Regions from separate parts of the Homo sapiens genome. Here region 1 is linked to region 2. The links are contacts of gene promoters, found by promoter capture Hi-C in human tissues and cell types (Jung and others, 2019). All regions are on one chromosome and are shown on one strand. The core of a region is centred on a gene start or on the middle of the fragment in contact, and the rest is flanking DNA. Distances in the headings are between cores, read along the strand shown.

Evidence for each region. Contacts are between HindIII fragments. The study calls those that stand out against the background at their distance.
Region 1: a contact is called between a fragment that was not itself captured here and the fragment with the promoter of MYH2 in region 2, in 3 of the 25 tissues and cell types used here (adrenal gland, neural progenitor cells and thymus).

What each region holds. Positions count from the first base shown.
Region 1 is chr17:10,445,359-10,448,307 of GRCh38, reverse strand. MYH4 (myosin heavy chain 4) reads left to right here. Exons shown (of 40, transcript NM_017533.2): 34 at 182-490; 35 at 1,092-1,295; 36 at 2,946-2,949. The region is part of intron 2 of MYHAS (myosin heavy chain gene cluster antisense RNA); the gene reads right to left. Among named protein-coding and RNA genes, the nearest start is that of MYH4, 23 kb to the left of the region's middle. RefSeq lists an enhancer at 270-1,469. The HindIII fragment of the contact is 4,935 bases long and covers 1-2,949 here.
Region 2 is chr17:10,548,380-10,551,083 of GRCh38, reverse strand. MYH2 (myosin heavy chain 2) reads left to right here and starts at 1,426. Exons shown (of 40, transcript NM_017534.6): 1 at 1,426-1,448; 2 at 1,667-1,709. All of the region lies in intron 2 of MYHAS (myosin heavy chain gene cluster antisense RNA), which reads right to left. The HindIII fragment of the contact is 30,725 bases long and covers 1-2,704 here.

The sequences.
Region 1 (2,949 bases), core at 139-2,638, 100 kb after region 2:
GAATAACACAAGTAATTCAGTGAAAAATACTGAATTGTACCTTGAGAATGCAGAGCTAATAGGCTACATTAAGACGTATGATAGTTTATGGGTTTTTTAATGCCTTCTTGGGGAAATTATCATAATGTGAAAGAAATAAAAAGCTCTTTAGGTAACCTAAATAAATGTTGCTTTTATTAAGGCATCTCTTGAGCATGAAGAAGGCAAAATTCTTCGCATTCAACTTGAGCTAAATCAGGTGAAATCTGAGATTGACCGAAAAATTGCTGAAAAAGATGAAGAACTCGATCAGCTAAAGAGGAACCATCTCAGAGTTGTGGAGTCAATGCAGAGTACACTGGATGCTGAGATCAGGAGCAGAAATGATGCTCTGAGGATCAAGAAGAAGATGGAGGGAGATCTTAATGAAATGGAAATCCAGCTGAACCATGCCAACCGCCAGGCTGCTGAGGCACTAAGGAATCTTAGAAACACACAAGGAATACTGAAGGTATGCTGGGGTAAATACACATAGTGTTGTACAGTCTCAGTGCTACTGTGTAACTCAAATTTTAATGTTTTACGAGGACTATGTGTCATAAATCACCTAAGCAACATGGTAATCAGTTCAAAGTTCAAAGTTATACACACACAACTGAAAAAGAGCTTAATTCTGGAAGGCCCAGGACAGAGTTTGCTTTGTTATCTGCAGAGAAGCACTGTGGTGAGGGGTAGGGAGATAGAGGAAGTGATGAAAGAGTTTGGCTACATGCCACTGCTTAAATCACTTCATTAATCTGGACTTCATTTGCTTAATATGTAAAATAGCACCACTGGACTCGCTGAAGTCTAAGGATACTTTCCTGATCCAAAATTTTGTAGAGCTAGCCATGGTATTTTTTAATGATTCAGGGTCTAAAATAATAAAACATCATGTTCTTTTGAGTAGAACTGCAACCCTCAGCTACAAAGAATTTATTATTAAAGGTACTTGCCGATTGCTCCTATCTAATCATACTCTAAGTCATTAAGATCAAAGAGTGTACATGACCATAAGTTTGCATTTGCTTTAAGTGCAGCATGAGTAAGAGGCTTTTTCTCTTTCTGTGTAGGACACTCAGCTACATTTGGATGATGCCATCAGAGGCCAAGATGACCTTAAGGAACAACTGGCAATGGTTGAGCGCAGAGCTAACCTGATGCAGGCTGAAGTTGAAGAGCTCAGGGCATCCCTGGAACGGACTGAGAGAGGCAGGAAAATGGCAGAGCAAGAGCTTCTGGATGCCAGTGAACGTGTGCAACTTCTGCACACTCAGGTGAGGTTCAAGACTATGGTTTAGAAAATGTACTCCCTGAAGCTGAAGATAATTTGAGAAGATAAGCTTGTTTATAAAGTAAAAAGTAATCTTCGTCCCTTCCTGGAGCTCTGGAAAATGTACAGGGTGCTGTAAGGATTTACTGGGACCTAGCTGGTTCACGAGTATATTTATGGGCTGGCATAATCATGTTGAGTTGAAATAATCTGGAATTCTAGAAACTTTTATTTAAAAAGCACAGAAGACCATCTACAAATAAACATACACACAACATTTGTAGCTGTCTTGTCTTATGCAACTCTAAGCTACAAAAAGATAGGCAAATAAAATAGAGGAGAAAAACAAAAAGCCACTAAATAATATTTACGTATCACATATGCACAGAATGCTAACCTCATGGGATACAAAGAGAAGCTCTTTAGTTCAAATTCATGGAGGCCATTATTAATACTAGTTAGCATTTGTTGTATATAGTGAATTTGTTAAATAAATGGTGGTATATCCTCACAATGGCTAATATGTAACCACTGTAGTATGAATTTATTGCCATGGGAAGATGTTTATATTATAGTAAGTTAAAAAAGCAACTTAAAAATAATATAGGCTGTGTGATCTTTTTTCCCGTATAAACATATAGGAAACATCCAGAAAGATAAATAAAAGTTTATCCTTTATCTCTGGTGAGAGCACAGTAATTATTTTTTGTTTCTTGTCTGCTAATTTGTATGTTCTACTATCTTTTACAATAAATATATAGTACTGTATACTTCAGAAAGTTGCACTATATAAACATAACTATTATAGAAGTGTTAAAATTGCATGCTTTATATAATTTTAAAATCAAATTAATATGCAACATTTTTCTTATTAACAGTATCTGAAGTTGACTATTCCAAACACCATCAACTTGCCAAAAACAGAAGGGATTCTTGGCTCATTTTTATCCCAACAAGACTACTATTTTTTTTTTTTTTTTTTTTTTTTTGAGAAGGGGTCTCACTCTGTCACCCAGGCTGGAGTGCAGTGGTGCGATCTCGGCTCACAGCAAGCTCCGACTCCCATGTTCACGCCATTCTCCTGCCTCAGCCTCCCGAGTAGCTGGGACTACAGGCGCCCACCACCACACTCGACTAATTTTTTGTATTTTTAGTAGAGACGGGGTTTCACCGTGTTAGCCAGGATGGTCTCGATCTCCTGACCCCGTGATCTGCCCACCTCGGCCTCCCAAAGTGCTGGGATTACAGGCATGAGCCACTGCGCCCAGCCAACAAGACAACTATTTATGCATTTATAAATATGGAGTCAACCAACATGAGTTAATAGCTAAAAATTACTGATTCATTTTAAATGAGCTGTGGTGTGGTGCTCCATGGTACAGCACTTTGAGTTTTGTGGGCTGTGTTTCATGCTTACAAATGGCAATGGTAATAGTTGAATATGTTTGACATCAAAAATTAAATTTAGAAGTTTGATTAAAGAGCTATATATAGAAAGGAGAAAAGGCATAAACTTAGAATTATCTTCTAATTTGGTTTTTATTCTAAACATTTCTTATGATCAATAATTTTTGCCTGTGTACACTAGGTAAAATGACAATGTGAGTTGTTATAAGTAAATGTGCTTCTCTTCTCTTTCATTAATTTGAAACAGAACA
Region 2 (2,704 bases), core at 177-2,676:
CATCCAGCCAGAGTAAAGGTGCCAGAAGGCTAAGTAGGTTGTACTGGAAGAGGTAGCCCACAGTAATAGCTCCAAACCTTAGACTTTGAATAGATCAGGTACTTGTGTGTATTTGTGACTGGTGTGCCCTTTGACCAATGCTGATGACTCCTTTAACCCATGAAGTTTTTGAAGATTAGAGCTTCATTATCCTTTGAAATATTTGATATGAAAGAGAGAGTTTAAATGGATTAAAAACTTATTTTCACTGTACGAGAATATTCAACATTATATTTTTCAATGAAGGAGAAAGAAGAACTGGTGAATTTTTAAAATACTCCAACAGTTGTAAATTACTTGGTTTTCCATTTTCATCCCTCCTTCTTGGACAAAAATCCCCGCTATGGTAATTATCAAGAACACAGATACTGTTTGTATCATTTTTGAAAATTTGATCTGGAAATTTGTGTCATATTTCAAGAATAAAGTCAGAAACAAACAAGTTTTATTTGTAGGATATAGCTCAAATTTTTCCTTAGGATTTTCAAGAAGATATTATTTGTAAGTTTCCGACATATTCAGTATTTAATATTTTCCTTAATGCTATGTGTATCATAGTTATTATATTTATATTACATAAAGGAATGTAAAAAAATTAAAAATATTCTCCCCAAGCCCTTTACAGATATAGACAAATCCCTTCCACATTACTCTAGCATGCTACACTAATATTGTCATTTTTTTCTCAGCGGGCTATGACACGAAAAAATGTTGAAAAGTACTCTCTAAAAACACCTCTGCTACTAGAAAATATTCAACCTTTTTTATTTCAGGCAAGTCAAATGGGTAGGGGGACAGGAAATGGTGTGCTAAGTAGAGGGAACAACTTTGGCAAAAGCAAAAAGGTGAGCGAGCAAGGAAATTCCTGAAACTACAGGAATATTGGAATAACAGAGAGGACCTTCTGTCTCTTTAAGTTGTTGAAGGCACATCGCTTAATTTTGCAGGGCTGGAAAGAAAGGACCAACAGGTAAAAATTAACTGTCACAAAATTAAAATACATATTTGTATTTTATTTATGTGACTTAACACGTGAAATATGCGAAAGTGATGCGAGGCAAGCCCGAATGCTGTGCCCAGCAAAGCCAAAAAGAAGTTCCGAGGGAAGCCAGGTATCCTGGCTGCCCAGCCACTGCCTTTATCCACCAGCTTGACTCTTTCAGATCATCTTCTCAAATTATCCATAGGAGATTTATCCACATACTCAATAAGAAAAATATTTCTAATTATATCCAACCATTCTTAATATGAATGAGAATTATGCGGGGACGCTAGATTGCCAAGAGGTATTTTGCCAAACAATTCCTTTTGACTTAAGAAAGAAGAGGCAGCTGCATTGTTTCCATAGCTATCCATATAAAAGAGCCCTTGGAATGAGGCTGACTCGTCCTGCTTTAAAAAGCTCCAAGGTAAGTGGGAGCAGGACGGGCCTTTCAAGAGGGACACTGGTCACACCGCCCAGTGTCAGCAGCAGCTGCTAGTTCTGGTACTGCTCCTTCTGGAACTGCACGTTTTACCTCTATGAATTTTGTTACTTCTGTTTACAATAGCAAGCCATGCCATAAATGGGATTTTTTCCCCCTCTTTTTGGTCAACTAATCAAGTGCTTTTCCCTTTTCTTTTATAGAACTGTCTCACTCCCAGGCTACATCTTCTCACTTGCTAACAAGGTAAGATTTGGACTAACCAGTTCCTGGAGGAGAATGCAAGAGGCTCTGGGATGGATTTCTGTCACTTAGCAACCTTTCAGAAAGTGCTTGTCTCAGTAAATACCCTTTAACAACTGTGCTTCAGGAAAGCGGTGAGAAAGGGAGGACTGTCCTTTCAGGACAATGCACACATCCTCATTTACGGCTCAAGCATTGGTGGGGTGACATTTGAGCAGGGGAATCGCTTTGAATAAATATATTGTCTGTGCAGGAAAAAAAGAGTCTACCCTCAGATTCCCTGGCTAAAAATCTCAAATTTGATAAAAATGTATCCTGCTGTTAGAATTCATTTAGTAAACATAATGTCCAACAATGTAAAATGGAAGTAAGACAATCCTTTCTTTAAACTTCTTAAAGCCCTTGTAAAAAGTCACCTTACACAATGCCGAGTGCTGTGGCATTTTTCTTATATATAATAGAGGTATTAATCTGCCCTCCCACTACTTACTGCATTTCTAAAGGGAGAGACTAGAAGAGACGATTCAAATGAGTTTCAAGTAATTTGATCATGTAATGACTGCGGTAGAATTATTTGCCAAACCTTTCATTCTACTGATACCACTGGCAACCTACAGATCACATAGAACGGAGCAAACAGGGCCTGCATGCTTCAAAGGAAAATTTGGAATAGTAAAGGGAGCCCTTAGATGTAGAAGAATGAGGTTAACGTTGGCTACTGTTTTTATCCCTAATTAGTTTAAGGGGGTTAAACTGATGAACTGTATTTAATATGCAAAAAATTATGTCAGAGAAACTATACTAAGCACCTAACCTAAAAGAAAAAAAGGTAAACAAAATTATAATCTCCAATAAGCCACTGAACTTCAACAAATCTGGCTGAACAGGTAAAGGAGGAAATAAAGTTCTTCTACATTACATTCAAGACATGGAATTTTGTGACATGATAATTCATGACATCTCATATATAAATGGTGGCCTGAACAATTTCAAATTAC